Linked DNA regions of Homo sapiens: all the other regions are linked to region 1. Evidence: promoter capture Hi-C in 16 types of primary human blood cells and fetal thymus (Javierre and others, 2016). All regions are on one chromosome and are shown on one strand. Each heading gives the region's core, a stretch centred on a gene start or on the middle of the fragment in contact. The rest is flanking DNA. Distances are from core to core; before and after follow the strand shown. Region 1 holds the start of LILRA6 (leukocyte immunoglobulin like receptor A6). Region 2 overlaps CNOT3 (CCR4-NOT transcription complex subunit 3). Region 3 has its middle 11 kb from the start of LILRA5.

Region 1 (3,895 bases), core at 1,023-3,522:
TGAATCGCTTTAGAAGTTGTTTACTTTCTTTTTTTCTTTTTCTTTTTCTTTTTTTTTTGAGACAGAGTCTTGCTGTGTGGCCCAGGCTGGAGTGCAGTGGTGCCATCTCAGCTCACTGCAATGTCCGCCTCCTGGGTTCCAGAGATTCTCCTGCCTCAGCCTCCCGAGTAGCTGGGATTACAGGCGTGCACCACCATACCCAGCTAATTGTTTTTGTATTTTTAGGAGAGATAGGGTTTCACCATATTGGCCACGCTGGTCTCAAACTCCTGACCTCAGGTCATCCGCCCACCTCGGCCTCCCAAAGTGCTGGGATTACAGGCATGAGCTACCACGCCCGGTCAAATTTTTCACTTTATGGCTACATAGTAGGTGTATATATTTATTAAATTACTTTTCGATGGTATTAATTCAATTTACTATTTTTCACCTTCACGACGTCTGTCTAATGCATTTCAACAACTGTCTGTGTTTTCCTCACGTATCTTGGTTGTCATTCCTGTGGGACAGCTCCTCCCACGCACCTGGCCTTTCATAAAGGGTTTCTCCCACGGCTGTCCAGGCATCAGCCTGATGAAGGGGATTGTTGCCGCTGCTCCTGCCCCACTCCCCCAAACTCAGTGTCAGCTCAAGATTGTGCCCAGCAGGGATGGGACCAACGCCAGCCTCACACTCACCTGTGGGGCAGACGCCCATGTCTGACCACCGTGGATCGAATCTGTTTCTCACACACAGGGGAGGGGCTGAGCGCTGACCGTGGCCTCCAGTGAGTGAGCAGAGACCCCCCAGCGCCTGTCCACACACACAGGGGAGGGGGAGCCACCGCTTCCAGCCTCACCCAGAGCCCTGACCCCTCCCTGCCTGGGAGGACGTGGGGTTCCTCTTCTGTCCCACATGGAGGTGGGAGCCTCCTCCTCCCTAATGACGCTCGGTGGTCCCAGACACCTGTGGCCACTCAGCATTGAACTCTGCTCATGGAAGGGGATGCGTCTCAATGTGAGGAACTGTTCTTCCTCTTTCTCGGCCTGTGGCTGTGATGATCTGCATATTTCAGACGTATCACAAGAATTTCATGGTATTTGGAGCCAATGTGGGCTCTTGAATGGGGGCGTCAATCATCCTCCTCAACTGTGGAGCCCAGCACCAGGATCCTCTCCCGTCCCCACCCTCCTGTCTGAACTGGTCTGGAAATTCACCATGGCTGAGCCTCCCATGTCCTGGGCACCACTGACCCCCACAGCCACTGTGATGAGTGGGGTTCACGACAGCAGGCTCAGAGGTGACATTCATGTCCAAAGTCTCATAAACCCTAGATGATAATCAGGAATTAAATACAAATCAGCTCACCTTCCCCAGAATCAGATTATAGATTACAATGAAACATATATATATATATATATATATTTCTCTTTATCCCCTCTATTTCTCCTTTTCAGACAGGATCCTGCGCTGTCGCCCAGGCTGGAAGGCCAAGGGGTGATCATATCTCCCTGCAGCCTCCGCCTCCCGGGCCCAGGTGGTCCTCCCACCTCAGCCTCCTGAGTAGCTGGGACCACAGGCATGAGCCTCCATGCCCAGCTCACTTTTTTCTTTTCTGTAGAAACAGGGTCACAGTCTGTTTCCCAGGACTGTCTGAAGCTCCTGGCCTCAAGCCATCACCCGCCACAGCCTCCTGAAGTGCTGGGATTCCAGGCATGAGCCACCACGGTAGACGCTGCATTTCTCCTCTGTGCTCACTGCTACACGCAGCTCAGCCTGGACTACACAGCCAGGTGTCAGGTGCGTCTCTGCTGATCTGAGTCTGCCTGCAGCATGGACCTGGGTCTTCCCTGAAGCATCTCCAGGGCTGGAGAGACGACTGCCATGGTAAGGACCCCGTAACGCTGAGCTGATGGACGGGCTGAAGGAGGGAGGGAGACCCCATGGGGAGGCTCTGAGAGGGAGGATGAGCCCACAGTCACCCTCGCCTCAAAGGGGCTGACTCCAGAAGGCACTGGTTCTATTTGCTGCTGTGTCCTAGCTCTCAGTGAGATAAAGATAAATCAGGCAGACAGTGGCCCGGGGGCAGGGAGACCCCATTTCTCTCTGAAATGCCTGCAGAGAGCCTGGTGCCTGCCCCCACTTCAGCCCTGGGGAAATCAGAGCCAGGTTCCTGGGGTGGCAGTTCCTCTTCCTGTGGGCTGAGGATGAGACAACCCCATGACAAGAAGGACCCAGCCTCCGAGCGGCCACACCCTGTGTGTCTCTCTGTCCTGCCAGCACTGAGGGCTCATCCCTCTGCAGAGCCCGGGGTCACCAGGAGGAGACGCCATGACCCCCACCCTCGCAGCCCTGCTCTGCCTAGGTGAGATTTCAAGATGGGGAGGGGGAGATCTGAGTCTTGGAGGAACCCCACCCCACACACAAGCCCTGGTCCATCAGGAGACCTCAAAAGCTCAGGAGGCACCAGGGCGGGGAGGACCTGCTCAGGCTTCAGGGCAAATGCCTCACAGGGAATTCTCTTCCAGGGCTGAGTCTGGGCCCCAGGACCCACGTGCAGGCAGGTGAGTCTGTCCCCAGCTGTCCCAGGTCCCTCATCCTTACTAGGGACAAGGGCCACACATGGGCAGCTGGGGGAGGAGACAGCAGTTCTGGGTGGGGAGGAGACAGTAGTTCTGGGTGACTGATGGGGATGATGAGGAAGTCCTGGGGCTGGGAGCTGGGATCTGAGCGTGGGGATGTCTTGGGATCCAGCCTCTGATTTCCATCTAGGGCCCTTCCCCAAACCCACCCTCTGGGCTGAGCCAGGCTCTGTGATCAGCTGGGGGAGCCCCGTGACCATCTGGTGTCAGGGGAGCCTGGAGGCCCAGGAGTACCGACTGGATAAAGAGGGAAGCCCAGAGCCCTGGGACAGAAATAACCCACTGGAACCCAAGAACAAGGCCAGATTCTCCATCCCATCCATAACAGAGCACCATGCGGGGAGATACCGCTGCCACTATTACAGCTCTGCAGGCTGGTCAGAGCCCAGCGACCCCCTGGAGCTGGTGATGACAGGTGAGAGGACACTCTGGGGTCCCAGCCCCAGGCTCTGCCCTCAGGAAGGGGGTCGGCTCTCAGGGGTGTCTCCCTCTCACAGCCCAGCCCTGGGGATGATGTGGGAGGTGGGAGCCCCATTTAACATGGTGCCTCTTTCTCTCCTAGGAGCCTATAGCAAACCCACCCTCTCAGCCCTGCCCAGCCCTGTGGTGGCCTCAGGGGGGAATATGACCCTCCAATGTGGCTCACAGAAGGGATATCACCATTTTGTTCTGATGAAGGAAGGAGAACACCAGCTCCCCCGGACCCTGGACTCACAGCAGCTCCACAGTGGGGGGTTCCAGGCCCTGTTCCCTGTGGGCCCCGTGAACCCCAGCCACAGGTGGAGGTTCACATGCTATTACTATTATATGAACACCCCCCGGGTGTGGTCCCACCCCAGTGACCCCCTGGAGATTCTGCCCTCAGGTGAGGGAGCCACGGCCTTGTCTAACACACTTTCGGGGCAGCTGACAGGTTGTGGGGAGTTTGGCTGGTGACTGAATCTGGAAAGGACCCAGAGTGATGTGTTGAAGGACGGGCTGAAGGCATGAGGGAGACCCCATGGGGAGGCTCTGACATGGGAGGAGGAGCCCTCAGCCACGCTCACCTGAACGGGGAGGACTCAGGAAGGCATCGGTGTGTTTGCTGTGAGGTCCCAGCTCTCAGGGAGAGGAGGAAAGATCAGGCACAGTGGCCAGGGCTAGGGAGACCCCACTCCTCTGAAATGACTCCAAGACAGCCCCGGGTGAGAAGGAGGCCCTGGGGTCAGAGACTCAGAGCATGAGAGACAGTGAGACCTGCAGGGCCAGGACGGGAGAAGGAAGGGGCGTGGGAG
Region 2 (3,895 bases), core at 1-2,500, 100 kb after region 1:
TTGCGCTTGTCCGCCATCTTCCCTGCCCTACAGACGCACTCTCTTCATACTCTCTTGGAGACGGACGCTGCTAGGAGAGATTGGAGAGGAATTAACACGTATTCCCTGGCTGGTAAAAACCCAGAGACATGGACCTAGTCAGCATAGTGAGGTAGGTGGGACTGGTAAAGAGAAGAAGCATTTGCTATCTGACAAGAGACCAGCCCCAGTTCTCCTGATGCTCGCTTGACTGCCCAGCATAGTGTCTGGCCAACAGGGGACCCCATAAGTTTGTTGAAACAAGAAAAGTTACATACTTTTTTGTGTGCCTCTGACTCAGGAAGTGGAAAATTCCTAGAGCATGGAGTACCTTCTCCCCAGAATACACTCAAAAAGGTTTTTCAGAGCAGGACAGTCATGCTGCACACAGCTGATGACTGGGATGGAGGCATTAGCCCTGGAGATCACACTTCCTACTCAGAGGGGCTGGGCAGAGGTGGCTAGGAGAGGTCATCCCTCAGACAAGTCAGGAGACAAATGAAACTGGCAGCTCACAGAGAAGGGCGTGTGTGTGTGTGTGTGTAAGCTGTAGGTAGGAGAAGAAAGATTGGGGGTGGGGGAAAACGACGGCGAGCAGAGATGCCGAAAGCTGTGAAGAGCTGAACCCGCTCATGCAGACAGGGCTGAATGCCAAGTAGAAGGGACTCAAACCACCAAGACATTTATTCCAGAGCAGGATCCTTAAACCAAAAGGAAATAACACTCCTAACCCAAAGAAGCTAATACCAAGAAGGCTTAGAGATTTGGGGGCAGAAGGCAGTACCCAAGAGAGACCTGGGAGAAGACAGAAATCTTACTAAGATAAGAGGGTGCAAAGGTACCGCAGCTGTGAGGGAGCCGATCTGCACTCACGGAGGAATCCCATAGCAAGTGGATTGGTAATTTAGAGTCAGGGAGACATAGACCATCAGGGCAGGAACCCAAAACTTCAAGAGAGGAGCGTCTTTATTTTAAAGGAAGTTACCTGGAACCCAGAGAAGACTGAGGTCAAAAGGGAGTTCCAAGGAGCTTTAGTCCAAGGGAAGACATACCTTAGGGCCTGACAGCGAGACCAGGGGAGCCCTGGGAAGAGAGGCTTATGCCTCAGAAGAAGACTTCTGAGATACCAGCGGAGATTGCCCTCTTCCCCTCCAGGGAGGGGGCCTACAATGAAAAGCACAGTTCCCTGGGATCCACGGGCCGCTCCCACTCTACGTGTGCAGGGCAGGGAACCCTGGAGTAGTCACTTACTGTAAAGACAGAAACAGCCCCATACTGAGGAACAAGAGCCTCAATACAGAGGGAAGTCACACCAAAAGAGTCCTCACCCACAAAGAAGGGAACATCTGGCAAACAGTGCTATCCAACAGAACTTTGCAATGCTGGAAACACTCTATTTGCGCATATCTGTTGGCCACTGAACATCTGAAATGTGGCAAGTGTAATGGAGGAACTGAATTTTTCATTTTTAACTAGTTACTAATCACCACATGTGACTAGCAGCAACCATATGGGACGGATATGCTTTAGAACAAGAAGCCCACAAAGGACAGGGCTGGTACCTTACCCCCAGGGAGAATTTTCCCAACACCGCAGGGACCCATTCTGGGTGATAATAGGTAGGGGTGCTACCTTACACTTGAGGGAATTTAAATCTCCTCAGTAAAAGGCCCAACCTAAAGAAAGCCGCAGCAGCCCCCGCCCAGGTCAGCTATCACGCCCTACCTGGGGAATCTCTAAGAAGGCAAAGCAACCAACAAAAGGACCCAGGAGAAGGTGCCACAGTGGGGATTCAGGCTGAGGAGGGGAAAGCCTCTTTGACCCAGGGAGCTCACACAAGGCAAGGGCCTGGACACCAGAGCTCAGGTGTGCAGGGATCCTCACCAAAGTCCAACACCCCAACACAGAAAAGCCTCTTACTGCATAGGGGGAACAAGAATGTGAAACGAGAGTTTACACTCCCTCTTTCCATCCCAAGAACCCAACAGAGGGTCATGGGCAGGTGCTCCAGCCCAGAGAGAGAAGAGGTCTCATGGTCTACACCCCTAAACAAGGCAATCAACACCTTAGGCAGGTGACGCCCTCCCTGTGTCTCCACACGGAAAGGACTGGTATCCTAGTGCAGAGGAAGAATACCCACAGACAGGAGACCACACTGTGGCAGCAAGAGAAGGAAGTCCTGGAGGGGTCACAAGCCAGGAGGAGGGGAACAAGAGCGCTAACCCAGGGAGGTGATGTTTCAGACAGAACAGTGTGACATCGAAGTCGGCTACAGCTGAGACCCAGTGAGGAGGCAGCTCCTCCACAGAGAAGGGGCAAGTGCCAGAGGCCCAGGGTACTTGTCCCCTAGAGAGGCTGGAGCCTTAGCCACAGTAGAGACAACACCTTCCCCGCTAAGAAAATCCCTATATCATGAGGGTATCTGTACCTCTGGTCCCCCCAGCAAAGGACCAGAGAGAAGGGAAGCTGGAGCCTGAGTCTCGAAGCAGAGACGCCGCCAGAGAAGAAAGAGCCCCATTTGCTGTAGTCAGGGGGGCATCCACCAAGATCCTCCAAGGAAGGTGGTGATCGCAGGTCCACTCTCAGGCGTGAAGAACCTGTGCTCCAGCAGCAAAGGCTCTCCAAGAGCACTGAGGAATCTGGGAACCTCGGCCCAGGAGGAGACTTACCCAAGAGGAACACACATCCCCACAGGGAAGGGACCCACAAGGCGGGTGGCGGGGTGGGGGGAGGTGAGCAGGACACCAGCCTCACAGGAGCCAACACGCTAAAATCAGAGCCAAAACCAGTAAAGAAGAGCCCCCCAGACTTCATCTCAGGGAAGATGATACCACCACACAAAGACTCGAGGAGGGAGGGGCAGGAGGTCAGCCCTGGGAAACTAACACCGGGTGGTCCTTAACCTTGGGGGCCGTCATGTGCCCACAGAGTGGTCTTTGTCATGAGGCACCTTTGATCTGGGAGAGCTTCCGCCTCTGCAGCAAGGAGCTCTGAGAAGTGATGTTGAAGGGTGATCCTTAACCCAGGTGGCTGCTGACGTGGCCACACAGAGGCTCTGAGACTCCAGAAGAAGGATGCGTTAGGGCCTGGGGTAGAGGTAGTCATCTCCACTGAGATGCCCCATGCCAAGGGTGGGGGGCTGGAATCTCCCACCTTGGAAAGTCTACACCAGAGAAGTCTCTGGTCCCAGGGACAGGGTCTACAGTGGAGTCTCCCGCTTGAGACTCAGGTATCTTACATCCACACAGCCAGGAAACTATGCCTTACCCCATACAGTGACAAATCAAGAGGGGGTTTTGGAAGCATTAGCCGGGGGCACCTGCATCCGAGAGGGGTCCTCAGCCTTACGGTGGGGACACATGCAGAGGCGTGGACACCTCAAATCCAGAAAAGCAGCCATACCAATACCAAGGATGGCAAGAACCTTATCCCTGGGGGAGGTGACACCAAGAAAGGGTCCTTACCCTGGAGAGAAGGCACAGCCCCAGAGGGAAGAGCCCCCACCTCGCAGTACAGGAACCCGGGTCTAGGAAGCTTCCTACTCTCATGGGGTACCAGCAGCGGGGCCAGAAGGCGAAACCCTTGTTCTCCAACTGCTGACACCCAGCGTAAGGGTAGATGGGAAGTCAACAAACCCACAGTGTGGGATCTGATGCAAATATCAAGGGCAGTGGGCTTCTTGGTCCTTGGAGAGCTGACACCCTAAAGGAGGAGACTGGTGTGAAGATGGAAGAAGCCTCATACTCAGGCAGGGGTGAAGGGAGGGAGGGGAGACATCAAAACCCCTCACCAAAAGGACAGGAGAGCTCACCCCGGGGTGGGTGGCCGCCCTGCACTGAGAGGCAGGGACTGCTCAGAAAGAGGGGCTGGTGCTGCC
Region 3 (3,895 bases), core at 351-2,850, 82 kb before region 1:
TGTAACTTTGGCATAATAGTCATTGCCCTACTCAGTGCTTGAGTGTCTCTCCAGGGACCTGAGAACCACACATGTAGCCTCTGTGGGGACGGAGCCTGTGCCTAGCATTGGGCCTGAGTACAGGCTTGCCTGGACCAGCCACACTTACCTTCATTTCCCTGCGTTGGAGGCAGAGTACTGATCAAGACCACTGAGTTTTCCACAACCCAACCCATCACTTAGGATACCTGAATGCTTCTGGTTAACAAAGGTCAAGCATAAAGCCCACTGCCAGCGCTACAACTGGCTCTCACCAGCAATTGCCACCTACTGGCCTGGAGGTCAAACCATACAGCACATTACAACGTCTCCTGAAACAAGTGACAGTGATTGGGGAAGAGACAAGTTTCACACAAACTCTGCCACCACCATTGCCCACGCCACCCCAGCTACACCTCTCCTTTGCAGAACCGCTTGAGGAAAGGCTAAACCTTTCTGCAAAGGAGAGGTGTCTAATTCCAGTGCTCGGGGTCTGGAGCCCATGCCACACTTGCCCCTCAGTTCTGTCTGTGGGGACCTGTCCCCTACTTGAGACCAGATTGCCAAGGAGGAGGCCTTAAGTTAACTTGCCTGCTCTGTCACCTACCTGAGCCTGGGAAGGTTGAGGCTGCAGTGATCCAAGATCGTGCCACTGCACTCCACCCTGGGTGACAAAGTGAGACCCTGTCTCAAAAAACAAAAACAAAAAAACTGCTCTGACCTTTTCAAAAGTATCAAGGTCAAGAACAAAGATAAACAAAGGCACCACGCAGTGGAGTAAGAGCCTGTCTATTGCCTATTGCTCTCAAGCGCCATCTACTGGATTACAGCCACACTACAACACCAAAAATCACTTTACTAAATTCTACCGCCTGGAAAACCAAGAGCAAGAATTCAGCAAAGACCCTGTACAGAGCCTTAGTCCCCTGAAAACTTCCAGAAATAAAGCCAACAGACTATACTCAATTTATACCCTTGCAATGAAAGGAATAGCAACCCTCCCAGATGAGAAAAAAAATCAGGGAAATAACTCCTATTATCTCCAAACCAGTCCACGAGCTCCCCAGAAATTGTTCTTAATCAGTATGAATTGTCTGAAATGACAAACGTAGAATTTGGAATCTGGATGGCAAGGAAGGTCATTCAAATCAAGAGCAAAGTTGAAATTCAATCCAAGGAAGCCAAGCAATCCAGTAAAATGATTAATGACATGAACGATTAAATTTTAAGAAACACCCAAACTGAACTTCTCGAGCTGAAAAATTCATGACACGAATTTCATAATACGATGAGAAGCATTAACAGCAGAATAGACCAAGCTGAGGAAAAGAATTTCAAAGCTTGAAGACTTGTTTGAATCAAATCAGTCAAATATAAGGAAAAAATATTTTTAAAAGTGAACAAAATCTCTGAGAAATATGATATTATCTAAAGACACCAAATGTATGACTTGTCAGCATTCCTGAAAGGGGAAGAGAGAATAAGCAACTTGGAAAATATATTTGAGGATATAGTCCATGAATATTTTCCTAAACTCGCTAGAGAGTTTGACACACAAATCCAAGAAACATAGAGACGCCCAGCCAGATAACGGTCTAGATTTGAGGGTATGGTGAAAAAGATGCTTAGAAAATGTCAGAAGTGAGACACAATGGCTCATTTGCTTGTGTCTTGCATTCTCCACCTTGCAATTCTGTACTGATGGCTGTACTATCAGCAGGATCCACTCGTTATTATATTCACTATCAACCTTCAGCCTAAGGGTTTTGGCAGCCATTGATGTTTATTGCTTGTATACTCAACGCACAGGTTATCCAAGCTTTGCAGGGTTAACTATTATTATGCAAAAACTCTACAGCTATTCTTAGGCAAAAACATTACTATAGCTATTACTATACTTATTATTATGTAGAAACATTCTACAGAAAAGAATGTTTCCTGTGTAACACTTCAGATAAACAAAAGAGATCTTGCTTCTTGCCTTCATTTCCACGTTTTTGATGTGGAGATTTTGTTCTTTTCCCATTCCTCATATTTGAGGGGTTTTTTGTTTTTTAATTTTGTTTTTAACAGTAGTAAACTGATAGGCTTTGAACATATTCATTAGTTTTAATACACTACCTATATTATTTGATTCTATAAATATTCCACATTTTGCCATTGGGAACTTTTCATGATAGACTTTATGTTCAGGTAACATGAATCTGATGGTATGTGGTGATGTCTTTGCTTTCTTGCATGATAAGAAGTTCTGACTTCATCTCCTGTATTTTCTCTCCGAATGTGGAGTCAGCTATTTCTCTAGGATGAAATTTAGAATTTTTGACCATACATATTTTAAGAATTAAACATTTTTGAGGGTGTATTCACTTATGTTTTACTATATATAGTCAAAATTATATAATAATATTAACTATATGTCACTACATAATATATAATTTGATTTAAAAGTATACATTTATTATATAATATGATAAATAATATATGCATTATAAAATATATGGTCAAGTAATTTTGCTTACATTCTAGTACAAATAATTCTTCCTTGTTTAGTAATGCCCTAATTTGATAGGAACTCAATTCTATTTCCTTTTTTAAGGTATTATCTTTAGATTTATAAGTTATATTTAAAAATATTTTATAGTATAGACATTCAGGAATATGTTTATATATGTATATATATATATTTTTAAACGGAGTCTTGCTCGTCGCCCAGGCTAGAATGCTGTGGGTGGCAAGCCACCCAGGTGCCGAGGCAAGAGACAGAGGACACGAGCTGTTCCAGTATAATAAAATATAAAACAAGAATAGTTATACCAGATATAGATCTTAGTTATGATTATATATGAATATCATTAATCATTTGTTTGTAGCAGTTACCCTTTATCCCAATATTATAATAATCCTCCCTCTGTAATCATAACCTAGGAAAAGCCAGGCCATACAGAGATAGGAGCTGAGGGGACACAGTGAGAAGTGACCAGAAGACAAGAGTGCGAGCCCTCTGTCATGCCCGGACAGGGCCACCAGAGGGCTCCTTGGTCTAGCGGTGACGCCAGCGTCTGGGAAGACGTCCGTTGCCAAGCGGACCGTGGTCTAGCGGTAGCGTAAGTGGCAAGGAACAACACCCGCTACTTAGCAGACTGGGGAAGGGAGTCTCCCTTTCCCCGGGGGAGTTTAGAGAAGACTCTGCTCCTCCACCTCTTGTGGAGGGCCTGACATCAGTCAGGCTCGCCCGCAGTTATCCGGAGGCCTAACCGTCTCCCTGTGATGCTGTGCTTCGGTGGTCACGCTCCTAGTCCGCCTTCATGTTCCATCCTGTACACCTGGCTCTGCCTTCTAGATAGCAGTAGTAAATTAGTGAAAGTACTAATAGTCCCTGATATGCAGAAATAATGGCGTAAGCTGTCTTTCTCTCTGTCTCCTCTCCCTCTCTGCCTCGGCTGCCAGGCAGGGAAGGGCCCCCTGTCCAGTGGACACGTGACCCACGTGACCTTACCTATCATTGGAGGTGACTCACACTCTTTACCCTGCCCCTTCTGCCTTGTATCCAATAAATAACAGCGCAGCCCAACATTCGGGGCCACTACCGGTCTCCGCGCATTGGTGGTAGTGGTCCCCCGGGCGCAGCTGCCTTTTCTTTTATCTCTTTGTCTTGTGTCTTTATTTCTACACTCTATCGTCACCACACACAGGGAGAGACCCACCGACCCTGTGGGGCTGGTCCCTACAAATGCAGTGGCACAGTCTCAGCTCACTGCAATCTCCACCTCCCAGGTTCAAGCAATTCTCCTGTCAGAGCCTCCCGAGTAGCTGGGATGACAGGAGTGTGCCACCATGCCCAGCTAATCTTTTTATTTTCAGTAGAGGTGGGGTT

The links. The method cuts DNA at HindIII sites, captures the fragments that hold promoters and counts their contacts. A CHiCAGO score of 5 or more calls a contact.
Region 2: a contact is called between a fragment that was not itself captured here and the fragment with the promoter of LILRA6 in region 1, in 1 of 17 cell types (neutrophils). The highest score is 7.4, in neutrophils.
Region 3: a fragment that was not itself captured here is called in contact with the fragment with the promoter of LILRA6 in region 1 in 2 of 17 cell types (M1 macrophages and M0 macrophages); the score reaches 6.6 in M1 macrophages.

The regions. Positions count from the first base shown.
Region 1 is chr19:54,241,167-54,245,061 of GRCh38, reverse strand. LILRA6 (leukocyte immunoglobulin like receptor A6) reads left to right here and starts at 2,272. Exons shown (of 8, transcript NM_024318.5): 1 at 2,272-2,344; 2 at 2,508-2,543; 3 at 2,752-3,036; 4 at 3,184-3,486. The coding sequence starts at 2,311. LOC107987463 (a long non-coding RNA gene) reads left to right here. Exons shown (of 3, transcript XR_007067341.1): 3 at 1,601-1,669. RefSeq lists an enhancer at 699-1,197. The HindIII fragment of the contact is 25,461 bases long and covers 1-3,895 here.
Region 2 is chr19:54,139,101-54,142,995 of GRCh38, reverse strand. It overlaps CNOT3 (CCR4-NOT transcription complex subunit 3), which reads right to left. Exons shown (of 18, transcript NM_014516.4): 2 at 1-67. The coding sequence starts at 17. Among named protein-coding and RNA genes, the nearest start is that of CNOT3, 3.3 kb to the right of the region's middle. The HindIII fragment of the contact is 4,608 bases long and covers 1-3,554 here.
Region 3 is chr19:54,322,237-54,326,131 of GRCh38, reverse strand. No RefSeq gene overlaps it. Among named protein-coding and RNA genes, the nearest start is that of LILRA5, 11 kb to the right of the region's middle. RefSeq lists a silencer at 661-955. The HindIII fragment of the contact is 479 bases long and covers 1,361-1,839 here.